Linked DNA regions of Homo sapiens: region 1 is linked to region 2. The links are contacts of gene promoters, found by promoter capture Hi-C in blood cells and fetal thymus (Javierre and others, 2016). All regions are on one chromosome and are shown on one strand. The core of a region is centred on a gene start or on the middle of the fragment in contact, and the rest is flanking DNA. Distances in the headings are between cores, read along the strand shown. Region 1 holds the start of LINC03086 (long intergenic non-protein coding RNA 3086). Region 2 holds the start of SNRPB (small nuclear ribonucleoprotein polypeptides B and B1).

Region 1 (6,466 bases), core at 3,921-6,420, 260 kb before region 2:
TAAAATTATTTCCTGTGGCTTCCGACTACCGCCCGACCTCACTGGCGCCTCTCTCCCAGGTTCCCTGTGCTCCAGCCCCTCATCACCTGGGATGGGGTTGTCTGCACCGCTGTCCTTGTGCCTGATGTCCCCACACGCTCGCTCCTCCTCCACCTTCCGGTAGTCCCAGCTTGAAAGTTCTGACCTCATCCCCTTCCCCAACACACCCCTACTCCCTGTCACATCACTCGAATCTGCTGCCTACAATTGGTGGGAGTGAAACCACTTAGTTTGCCAACTTTGAAGGAATCCTGTGAAATGCTCAGGTAACTGGCACCAATTTCCCATTTGTTCCCTTGACATTTCAGTGCTGCTTATGGATTAGTGCTTTGGGCAGCTGCACAGATAACCCACCTTTTGATCTGGGTCCGCTTGGCACAAGATACAATAAATGTCATGATAAATGTCAGCCAGGATTACAATGCTTCCTTCACAAACCTTAGCACAGACGGTTTCAATAAAGATTGCTTGATTAACTTTTTTCTTCTAATTCAATGCCATTTTAATCATGTGCCTACTTTTTGCTTAAAAGGCCTGTGAATTTCATTCTGACAAATAAAATTATTTTCCAAAAATGTACACAATTGCTTTGGCGATGTTCAATTTTCATTTCTTTGCTTGGTAACAGTGCTTAGCATTTAGCTGAGACTTCTTTATGGAAACTCTGCCTCCAGGAGAAGTAGCTAAAAGTCTGAAAAGTAATATTTGATGTATCATAAGGGGATAGTTATTAAATTCTTTTATTAAATTTAAGTTTTTATAAAACAGAACATCTTCAATGTGGAAGAGCTACATAGAATCACACTGAATGACTTTAAAGACATTTATTTCAAAGACTGCCATGTATCACACTGGTTAACAGTCACTCTGGATACAATTTTCTTTAAAGAGACCACTTCATTCCACTACAGCCACTTCAACTGCTTCCTCAATGGCTTAGAGAGGTCCAGGGGTTTTAGAGAGTCAGTGGGAAGTCATCCTAGAGATCATCAAAGTCTATCTTCCTCCTTTCTCAGAAAACAAATACCTGATAGTGTTGGTGCTTCCTTTCTCGGAACAATTGTGTTCCCTGAATCATACACAGTGGATGTTTTATACACAAAATTGTATTCTGATTGCATATACATACTATGCTAATGAATCACCCTCCAATCCATTTGTAGAGTGCTCTATCTGTAGAGTTATAGAAATATCAGTGTTCGCTCAAGATGGTCCATTGGGATGAGAAAATATTAGGACTTATATTCATGGTTATGTTTATTTGAAACTAGGAGAGATACTAAGTTTTACTAGTGTTTGCTACATGGCCTGACCCCAAAGGCCACACTGGGTCATGTGTCATGGGTGGTAAGCATGGGGGCGTCAGAGTGGTAGCCCGTGGCTCTTTCACTGACTTCTTGGCCTTCGGTGTATTACCATGTGTTACAGTTTCCCTGCTAGAGGAGGTTATCAACTCATCAACAGGGCTCATTTGGCAAAACCGAGACCCCTAAATGATATGATTTTTACAATACTTTAAAAATTGGCTGTATCTGTTTCCAGATTTTTTTCCCCTAAGCATCTACTAACAAATAGTTATATGTATTAGAAAACAAAAAGAGAGCCGGGCACAGTGGCTCACACCTATAATCCCAGCACTTTGGGAGGCCGAGGTGCACAGATCACTTGAGGCCAGGAGTTCAAGACCAGCCTGGCCAACATGGCAAAATCCCATCTGTATAAAAAATACATAAATTAGCTGGGCGTGGTAGCATGCGCCTGTAGTCCCAGCTACTTGGGAGGCTGAGGTAAGAGGATCGCTTGAGCCCAGGTGATTGAGGCTGCAGTGAGCCATGATCACACCACTGCACTCGAGCCTGGGAGTCAGAATGAGACCTTGTCTAAAAAAACAAAAACAAACTCAAAAAACAAAAAAAGCTTCATAATCTACATACACCTCTTTTCTTCACTCAGCCATATGGTTTGGGCATCTTTTCATGTCACTATATTTAGCTCTACCTCATTTTTCCCTACCTTATTCTTTTAAATATTTGCATAGAGTTCCGCAGTCATCCCTCTCATTACAAGGTTAGTTTGTTCCTAAGAAAATTCATAGGGTGAATTTTCATAAACGGAAAAGATAATTACTATTTCAACCGATGGTACACAGTTACTGCACAATTTCAGAAACAAAATACACACATGATTCTCAAAGTCATAAAAATTTTTTTAAAAAGCAGTATAAGAGAGACAAAGGAAACAATGCAAGTGATGCCTGAGTCTGTTACTTACAACCCGCACCAACTATGTCACCATAGAGAAGACCATGTGGAGGCTGCTCCAGAGGCTCAATAGCAGTCTTTGCTAATGCAGTGAAATCCTCACAAGCCAAAGAAAAGAAATTTAATGGAAATTAAACTCCTTTTAAAGTCAAAGTCTTGAACTTGCATGGGCATATTTTAGGGTAAGACTCTTTCCCATAGTATGGATGCATTATAATTTATTTCCCAACTGTTCATTATATGGACATCTGGGTTCATATTAATCTGCCAGGACTCCCATAACAAAATACCACAGACTGAGTGGCTTAAACAACAGAAATGTATTTTCTGACAGTTTCAGAAGCTGGAAATCCAAAATCAAGGTGTTGGCAGCTTGGTTTCTCCTGAGGCCTCTCTCCTTGGCTTGCAGATGGCAATCTTTTCAGTGTATCCCCACATGGTCTTTCCTCTGTGTGTGCACCCTGGGTGTCTCTCTTCTTAGAAGGATACTAGTCATATTGGATGAGGTCAATATGAGGTCATTACCCATATGACCTCATTCAACCTTAATTACCTCTTTAAAGACCTTATCTCCAAATATAGTGGCATTCAAAATCATTAGGAGTTAAGATGAATTTTGGGGTGCACAATTCAGTCCATAACTCAGTTGTTTCTCATATTTTTCACCGATATTCCTCACCTCACACACTCCTCAATCCATTCTAATCTCATTTCCACCCTCAGTGCTCCAATGGATATTTCCCTCCTCTGAGTGCTACCTGGTCAATTGTGATTGTTGCTCCCGTAAACAACTACAGTGTTCTCCTTCTTATTGGTTCCATGATGTTTATCATCCCCCCTGCCGCCGCCCAATCCATTCTCCCATAGACATAGTAAAATGCATTTGTAATCTAATCACCCCACCCCTTATCTTGATACTCTTCCCTGACTTCTTGCTTTTGAATTAAGACGCAAACAACTTAGGATGGTGGACAAGCCCTTGCAGGATCAGATATCGGTCCACCTCATTCATACTCCAACAGCCTCCTCCAACCCACTTCATTCCAGCCACACTGGCTTGCTTTCATCCCATGAGAAAGGTCAAGTCTTTTCCCACTTCAGGGCATGAATTGTGTCCTCTGCCAAGAACAACCTCCTCTTTGTCTGTCTCATCCTTCACACAGATTAAAAGTGAGTTTCTCAGTGAAGCTCTCCTTGACCCCCACTTGTCAGGTTACCATTGTCCCAGGCTCCCACAGAATTCTGGATTTTCTCTGCAGTGGTTATTACACATTGCAGTCACTGGAGCGATTGTTTCATATGCATCTCCCCCACCAGACCAAGAGCTTCTGGAGAGCAGGGGCCACATGGAAGATGCTCATTCCTGCATCCCCAATGCTCAGCCCAATTCCTGGCACAAAGTAAGTACTCGATAAATATTTAATGAATAAATAAACTCGTTGCATTTGGCTGTTTCCTCCATTTGGAAGGCCCTTTTCATTCTCATCCATCTGGCACGTTGAGGCCAGCCAGCTCCTATATCGCTCTGATTAGACTGTGAATTACTTTCATGGCAGGACCTGTGTTCCCAGTGCCTGGTAAAGGGCATGGCGCACACAGCAAGCCTGCCGGTTGAAGCAGATCATTTTTACTTTGCTGCGTATCCAGGTCCTACATCACTGCCCTACTGAAGGTTCTTGAGTCAAGAAGCAGATGAAAAAATTATCAACCTTCTGTCTGATTCATAATGACTATCACCGGTAGTCATTTATTTTGTATGATTTGTCTATAAATCATACAAAATAAAACTGACAATGGTTAAGATGGCACCTGTGAAATTTGTTATGAACTCAGAAGACTCACATCTTAAAGGTAACACTGGAAATTACAAGAAGCAAAGGAAATCAGATCTGGTTGAAATAATCAATGCAAACTAAAACAGACTGCCCACGTAAAATTTGCTCCTTACTAAACATTTGTAGAGGACTGCCATTGACAGATTTTTGGACCCACAAAATTTTGCCAAAGGAAATGGAACTATGGCGGCTGGGCATGGTGGCTCATGCCTGTAATCCCAGCACTTTGGGAGGCCAAGGCAGGCAGATCCCTTGAGCCCAGGAGTTCGAGACCAGCCTGGGCAACATAGTGAAAGCCTGTCTCCAAAAATGAAAATCAACCAGGCGTGGTGGTGCATGCCAGTAGTCCCAGCTAGTTGGGAGGCTGAGGTGGGAAGATTGCTTGAGCCTGAAGGTTGACGCTGCAGTGAGCCCTGATGGCGCCACTGCACTCCAGCTTGGGCAAGAGGGTGAGACCGTGTCTCAGAAAGAAAAGAAAATAGAACTTGCTAGTGTCAATGCCTTTTAGCCAAAGACCACCAGGACACACCTATAGTTGAACAAGTTGGGTTGCACTGAGGGAGAGTACATACCATGACAGAACTATGGGGGGGTATCTTCGAAAAGAGGTGTTATAAAGAACCTATTACTGGATTTGAGCTTTTATGGGTAATTTAAGGAGGGCCTATGGAAGTTGGATTCGCCCTAGATTGGAAGTGGTCAGGAAGCAGGAGCCAATTCCATGATTGGGTATCTCAATAAATCTAATCTATAGAGAAGGCAAACTAGAAGAAAGATAAAACTGTAATTAGTTAGCAGGGGGCCGGGCACGGTGGCTCACGCCTGTAATCCCAGCACTTTGGGAGGCTGAGGCAGGCAGATCACGAGGTCAGGAAATCGAGACCATCCTGGCTAACACAGTGAAACCCCATCTCTACTAAAAATACAAAAAATTAGCTGGGCGTGGTGGCGGGCTCCTGTAGTCCCAGCTACTTGGGAGTCTGAGGCAGGAGAATGGCATGAACCTGGGAGGCGGAGCTTGCAGTGAGCCGAGATCCTGCCACTGCACTCCAGCCTGGGCGACAGAGCGAGACTCTGACTCAAAAAAAAAAAAAAAAAAAAAGAGAGAGAAAAAAAAAAGAAGTAGCAGTCACTCATTTTCTCCAAGACGGGTGTTTGGTATTTTGTGAGTGGCACAGTGACTGTGTTTTTGTCTGTGCTTAGACAAAATTTCAAAGTAGATTTGCTATGTCTCACTTTATCAGGCTCTCTGTAACCATATCTGAGGTTGTTATTTTGTGACGCTACGTACAATAGGAGGATAACATGGTGGACCTGTGATGCCAGGCTAGCTTCTGAATGTCGGGGTTCCCTTTTTTTTTTCTTTTTCAATAAAATAAGCATGAAATACAAAATATCACAATGATGGAAACCAAAGTAAAATTCGACATACAAATTTTAAAGAAGTAAAATCTTTATCATGAAATTTATATGTAAAAGAATCACTCAGTAAAGACAATTTCCATAAAATAAAAATGGATATGGATACTATTTAACTATGTTGTATTAAAAAAAACTGATCAAAGAATTGGTTTAATGGAAAATGCTCTGGAAAATTCTTTTGCAACAGTTCATCGCTGTTGATATAATCCTAATTAAAATTATCGGACTCCAGTTTTGGTGGAGATGTAAATTTGCTAGTGTCTTTGAAGAGCAATTTAGTCATATTCATGAAAATTAAAATTGCATGTGGCCTTTGACATAGAAATTTTACTTCTGGAAATTTACAGAGAAAGTTGCACGTGTGCACGTACATACAAGGATATTACCACTCCACTCTAGTATTTTTTGTAGTAACGAAGATTGAACAAACATTAATGTCCTCCAGTAAGAAGCTGATTAAAATTCAGTATGAGACATCCATTGTACCCAAAGCTAGGTGGCCTTAAGAAGGTCAGTGTCGCTCAGCGACAGGGCTCGGCCCCCCCTCGTGCAAACCCACCCCGAGGTGTGAGGCCAGGAGTGTGCGGTCACGAGGCGCCCGGGAAGTGTGTCCAATGCCCGAAGCAGCCCCCACCCGGGCGGTCCTGAGTCCGGGTCGCGCTCTGGTGTATCTCTTTTGACGTCTGCTACCCACAGCCTGGGGCAGGAGAGTGGCGACGGCGAGGAGCAACTGCACGCGACTTGGGACCTTGCCCTGCCCCGCGGCCCGCGTCACCATGGCAACTGCAGGCAGCCAGCACCGACGGCGGGAAAACGAGGACCGGAGCCGCGTTACAGCCTTGGCCTTCGAGCAGCCCAGGGAGAGTCTCTGCGTCCTCCAGCCCCCGCTTCCCTTCATGTCGGAGGTCC
Region 2 (6,590 bases), core at 598-3,097:
AACTTGACTCCACACAAAGATACTGCGAGCCTCCCTCAGGTTAGGTGGTTCAGTTTCCATTCAATGACCATTTTAACCAGCTTCTAACCACAAGGGATCTGAACCTTTAGGGCAACATTCACTGGTCCAGCTCAACTAATGTTTACTGGGTGCTCACTGTGTATCTGGCACTGTGATAAGCACAGTACATCTCATTTAATCCCCAAAATTGGGCCCATTATTATCCCTATTTTACAGATGAGGTCACTGAGGCTAGGAGAGGTTAAGTAACTTGCCCAGTTTCACAGCTGGGAAGCTGTGTTGGAACCTAGACAAAATGAATCCAGCGCCTATTCTAACCAGTTATCCAAACAATATCCTACCAGGTTTCCCTGCTTCCAGTCCCATCGAATATACATGCCAGAGCTAGAGCAATCTTTCTAAACACCACTAAGCTTATGTCATTTTGCTGGTTAAAATCCTTCAGTGGGCAGGGTGTGGTGGCTCACGGCTGTAATCCCAGCACTTTGGGAGGCCAAGGTGGGTGGATTAACTGAGGTCAGGAGTTCGAGACCAGTCTGGCCAACATGGTGAAACCCCGTCTCTACTAAAAATACAAAAAATTAGCCAAGTGTGGTGGCGGGTACCTACAATCCCAGCTACTTGGGAGGCTGAGGCAGGAGAATCGCTTGAACCCGGGAGGTGGAGTTTGCAGTGAACCCTGATCGATCCACCGCACTCCAGCCTGGGCAACAAAAGCAAAACTCCGTCTCAAAAAAATAAAAATAAATTAAATTAAATCCTTCAATGACATGCCTCACCACCACTGAGGTAAAATTAACATGCAAGGCCTTTAGTAACTAGCCTCCTGCCAATTCTTCCCGTCTTCCCTTCTTTCTTCCTTTCTCCTCCAGCAACTTTTTCTCAGTCAACAAACGCAGAAAAATCCAGTAACTTTTTAAATCTTGTTACCCTTCAGCCTTTGTTCCTTCAGTTCTCCGGGTCTGTAATATTCCCCCCATTTTCGCCGGGAACATTCTTGCTAATCTTTTAGGAATCTGCTCAGGAACCATCTATTTGAGAAAACATTCTTACCCCGCCCCGCTGCCGTTACTTTTACCGAATGACCACACTGAATTATATTATGTGTCCCCAGCTACCTCTGTGAAGGAAGCAAACATATTTCAGAGAGTAGCCCCAGCGCCTGAGAAGTCAGGCACAGGCAAACACGGAAACGTGATGAGCAACTGAGTGGAGCTCTTCCTCCATTCGCCATCACCCTCCTCCGCCCTCCTCTCCATCCAGCAGACCTAGCGAGACTCTAGCGTGGTCCACGAGCCCCTTCCACCCACTTCCGCCAACTCTTTCTCAGACTCACAAACTTCCGCAAGTCTGAGCCTTTTACCGGGTCCCCCTGCGGCTCCAGTGCCTGCTCCGAAGCCCGGGACATATATTTATTCGGCAAAAGTTAACTTAGTGCCTACTGGGTCCCAGGAATTATGGCTACAGCGGTGTCGAGAGCCGCGGTTCTACCCTCGCCCCTGCCGAGCGACCTCGGCCTCCGACACCGGTTCCAACCTTTTCCTCGACCCCATGCCTAGCCGAACCGCCAAGGTCCTGGTCTTTCCCGCCCAGACCGAGCGGCCTCGGCCCAGGCCTTCACCGCCCTAAGTGGCTCCAACCCACGGCTTCCTCCCCGATCAGTCGCGGTTCCCACTCCACAACAGACTCGGAAGCTCCCGCGCCGCCAGCCTGTGCCCTCCTTACCATGGTGGCGGTTCTGATGGCTCTGATACCCGCCGGATTCGCCTCCTCAGAGGCCTAGCCTCTCTCCCACAGCCGATTTCCCGCCGCCGCTACCGGAAATGCAGCACCACGTAAAATGCGGTCGGGTAGAAACCTACTTCCGGTCCAGCTCACTAGCCCTGGAGTTCCGGCCCCGGAGCGGAGCTTCTGCCGAGCAGAGGCGGGGCCTGGGGACTGGGCGTTAACATCCGGCTTTGACGTAAGGAGAGCCTTAAGTTCCTGTTTGGACACCTTCCTAGCTTAAATCCGTACTGAGAGCTGCTCTGTGTCACACTCATTTCTCTTCACCCCGCCTTTCCCATTAACCTCTCGGTCCTCATTTCCCATCACCCTCCCCGGCTCTCTCCTCTACAGTCACTATTCTTGCTTTTCCCTCCACTGGCTGGACGTGCTCCTTTTTCAGCCCCTCTGCATTTGCTTTCGCCTCTGCCTGGAATGGTAGTCCCCAAGGTATACCAGAAGGCTGCTGCCCTCACCTCTTTCAAGGTTTAAGCTTAAATAACATTTTCCCAGTGAGGATTTCCCTAGCCATCCTGTAACCTTCCCACCCACCTCATCCTCATCTCTCCTGTATTTCCCTCTTGCTATCTAACACGCTGTATATTTTTGTTAGTTATTTTATTATCCCCTCCCCATTAGAATGTAAGATCCATAAGGGTGTGAATTTTTCTCTTTGTGTATTACTCATTGCTGTAGTGCCTAGAACACTTTAGCACAAAATAAGGGCTCTACCCATATTTGCTGATAATCGCATCCAGTCGTATGACATTTATTTTTTTTCTATGACTTTTTTTTTTCTTTTGAGACAGAGTCTCAGTCTGTCACCAAGGCTGGAGTGCAGTGGCACAATCTCGGCTCACTGCAACCTCTGCCTCCCCGGTTCAAGCGATTCTCCTGCCTCAGCCTCCCGAGTAGCTGGGAATACAGGCCTGTGCCACCACACTCGGCTAATTTTTGTATTTTTAGTAGAGACGGGGTTTTGCCATGTTGGCCAGGCTGGTCTCGAACTCCTGACCTCAACTCCTGGTCTCGAACTCCTGATCCACCCACTTTGGCCTCCCAAAGTGCTGGAATTACAGGCGTGAACCATCACACTGGGCCCTTCCTATGACTTTTAAATACAGCATATACACCCAAGGCTTTCAAGTTTGTTCCTCTAACCTTGGTCTCTTCATTTAACTCTTGGCCCTTTATATCCAGCTGCCAGCGTGATGTGAATGTCTAATAGGTATACCAAATTTAACATGTTGAAAACTGAATTCTTGATTCTATTCACTGTTTCTAAAACCACTTCACCAGTGTTCCCCATCCCCGAAGTTTCTTGGATTAAAAAAGAAAAAAAAGAAAATGACAAATTTGAAGCATATTTCATTCTTCTCTTTCTCTGCCATCGAATAATCAAATTCATCAGCAAATCCTGTGGCCCCCACCTTCAAATTATCTTGAATATGATTGTTGTCACCCACTCCATTGCGTCCACTCTAGTCATAGCCACCATCGTCTCTGTCTTGGATCATTGAACGAGCCCGTAACTTGTCTCTTTGCTTCCTTTCTTGTTCTCACGGCAGCCAGAGGGATCCTTCTAAACGTACTGGGATATCAGATGATGTCATGTCCTGGTCTCCACTTACCAAAAACTTCCCAGCACACATGGAATAAAATCTAGCTCTGCGCTCCTCTCCAACCTCATTCATCTCCGTCAACATTGCCCTCATTCATCCTTCTCCAGTCACACTAATCTCCTTGCTGTTCCTCAAACCCAGCAAGGAGAGCTTCCACCTTGGTGCTTTGCCATCTTCACACCATCTCTAAAGGGTGTGTTCTGTTGTCCCGTTTCCTGTCACCTGTAGATGAAGAGGCGAAGCCTCATAGAAATGAATTATGTTGCCCAAAGTGGCGGAGTCAGAGTGGGAATATAGGTCCGTCTGGCTCCTCAGCTGTTCATTTGCCCCCACCTTACCCAGCTGCCTAACACTTCATTCATGCATGCATTTAAAATCATTTTTATTTAGCATCTACTAAGGCCATGCACCATTATTGGGATAGAGTCCTTTCCCTCACGGAGCTTTACATCCTACTGAGAAAGACATAGTAAACCAAATAAATAAGTATGCAATGTAACATTAGAGTGATATGAAAAAAATAAATAAAGGCAGAGGAACTGAGAGGGATAGGGTACAGTTTTGGCTAGGTGGTCAGGGGAAACTTCTCTGAGGAGTGGTATGTGAGCAGAGACCTGAACCTACACTCAGGTCTATCAGAAGGATGAATATTATGAAGGACATTCTAGAAAATGTATATAAAGGGAATCATATAATAATACGTGGTCTTTTGTGACTACCTTCTTTCACTTAGCACAATGTTTTTAAGGCTCATCCATGTCATGACACGTATCAATACTCCATTCCTTTTTATGGCCAAATAACATTCCATTGTATGGATGTACAGTAGTCCCCCCATATCCATCTTTCACTTTCTGTGGTTTCAGTTACCCACAATCAACTGCAGTATAAAAATAGGTGAGTACAGTACAAGATATTTTGAGACCACATTCATATAACTTTTATTACAGTATATTTTTATAACTGTTCTATTAGTATTGTTAATCTCTTACTGTACCTAATTTATAAATTAAACTTTATCATAGCTATGTATGTATAAGAGAAAATAGTATATATAGGGTTTGGTAGTATCTGCCGTTCCATGAATCCACTGGTGATCTTGGAATATAACCTCCTCAGATAAGGAGGGAACTACCATATTTTATCAGTTCATCAAATGACGAACATTTGGATTGCTTCCACCTTTTGGCTGTTATAAATAATGCTGCTGTAAACATCGTGTACAAGTCTTCACGTGGACATGCTTTCATTCCTCTTTGGTATCCAGATAGGAGTGGAATTTCTGAGTCATATGATAATTCTGATTAACCATTTGAAGAACTGCCAGACTGTTTTCCAAAGTGGCTTCACCATGATACATTCCCACAAGTGGCGTATGAGGGTTCTGATTTCTCCACATCTTCACCCATATTTGTTATTATCTGACTTTTTGATTCAAGCCATCTTAATGTGAAGTGCTATCAATTTCATCGTGGTTTTGATTTGCATTTCCCTCATGACTAATGATGTTGAACATCTTTTCATGTGCTTGTTGGCCATTTATATATCATCCTTGGAGAAATGCCCATTCAGATCCTTTTCTCATTTTTTAATTGGACCATTTGACTTTTATTATTGAGTTGTAAGAATTCTTTCTACATTACAGATACAAGTTCCTTGTCAGATATATGATTTATACAGGTTTTCTCCCATTCTGTGAGTTTTTTTTTTTTTTTTTTTTTTTGAGACAGAGTCTCACCCCATCACCCAGGCTGCAGTGCAGTGGTGCGATCACAGCTCACTGCAGCCTGACCTCCAATGCTCAAGCGATTCTCCCACCTCAGCCTTCCGAGTAGCTGGGACTACAGATGCATGCCACCACGGTGGCTAATTTTTGTTATTTTTTTTTTTTTTTGTAGAGACAGGGTTTCACCACGTTGCCCAAGCTGGATTCAAGCAATCCACCCACTTCAGCCTCCCAAACTGCTGGGATTACGGGCATGAGCCACCATGCCTGGCCTTTTCACTTTCTTGGTAATATCCTGTACAAAAGTTTTTTAATTTGGATGAAGTCTAATTTATCTTTTTGTTGTTGTTGTTGCTCATGTTTTTGGTGCAATAAGAAAAATCTTTTCTGCCAAATCTAAGATTATGAAGATTTACCCCTTTGTTTTCTTCTAATAGTTTTATAGTTTTAGCTCTTACATTTAGATTTTTGATATATTTTTAGTTCATATTTTATATATGGTATAAGGTAGGGTCAAACTGTATTCTTTTCTAAGTAGATATACAGTTAGCTCAGCATCATTTGTTAAAAAGACTCTTCTTTCCCCCACTGAATAATCTTGGCACCCTAGTGGAAAATCATTTGACCATTGACACATGGTTTTATTTCTGGACTTCCAATTCTATTCCTTTGATCTATATGAAGTCAGAAAAAGTGTGAATCCTCCTCCTTTTTCTTTTTCAAGGTTGTTTTGGCTATTCTAGATGCCTTGCAACTCAATTAGTTTGCCAATCTACAAATAAGGGAAAAGAGGTCATGAATTCAGAGCCGGGGATTAAACAGGCAATTCATCTGGTATTTACTTGATAAAATGGTCCCAAGTTTCAGTCTAGATCAGGGGCGGGCAAACTTTTTTAAAATATGTATAAGACTGGTTAGTTTCCAATATTTTTTTTGTTAAGGGCAGAGAGCATTTTAGGGCTATCGAGCCATTTGGTCTCTGTTGCAATTACTCAACTTTACCATGTACCATGGAAGCAGCTATACTCAATACCTAGCAAATGAGTGTGGCTGGGTTCCAATAAAATGTTATTTATGGATACAAATAGATGTCACAAAATATTATTATCCTTTAAATTCTTTGCGACCATTTAAAATGTAAAGACCATTTACATTTTGTGTAAATGTAAATGTAAAGACCATTTACATTTTGTGTGGCTCAAGGCCACACAAAAACATGTGATCAGCAAGGATTGGCATTTAGGCTGTAGTTTGCCAACCTCTGATGTAGACCATTAGATTTCTGTGTCTAGATTCAGGGTCACAGCCCCAGCTGAGTATTCATAATTAATAGTTTTGACTTGCATTATTTATTTGGCTTATCTCTGGGCTCACCAAATATATGCAGTCAAAATTCATGTCTTTTCCCTCATTTTAAAAACACACACATATACCTTCACACTTGTATCAATCTACGT

Evidence for each region. Contacts are between HindIII fragments. The CHiCAGO score rates a contact against its expected background, and 5 or more counts as called.
Region 1: a contact is called between a fragment that was not itself captured here and the fragment with the promoter of SNRPB in region 2, in 1 of 17 cell types (monocytes). The highest score is 5.2, in monocytes.

The regions. Positions count from the first base shown.
Region 1 is chr20:2,200,812-2,207,277 of GRCh38, forward strand. It overlaps LINC03086 (long intergenic non-protein coding RNA 3086), which reads left to right and starts at 6,117. Exons shown (of 2, transcript NR_161305.1): 1 at 6,117-6,466. LOC105372502 (a long non-coding RNA gene) reads left to right here. Exons shown (of 3, transcript XR_937202.3): 3 at 60-614. RefSeq lists enhancers at 6,208-6,466, 6,391-6,466. The HindIII fragment of the contact is 6,433 bases long and covers 1,955-6,466 here.
Region 2 is chr20:2,468,942-2,475,531 of GRCh38, forward strand. SNRPB (small nuclear ribonucleoprotein polypeptides B and B1) reads right to left here and starts at 1,848. Exons shown (of 7, transcript NM_003091.4): 1 at 1,747-1,848. The coding sequence starts at 1,749. RefSeq lists enhancers at 1,468-1,587, 1,748-1,797, 1,808-1,857. The HindIII fragment of the contact is 1,844 bases long and covers 433-2,276 here.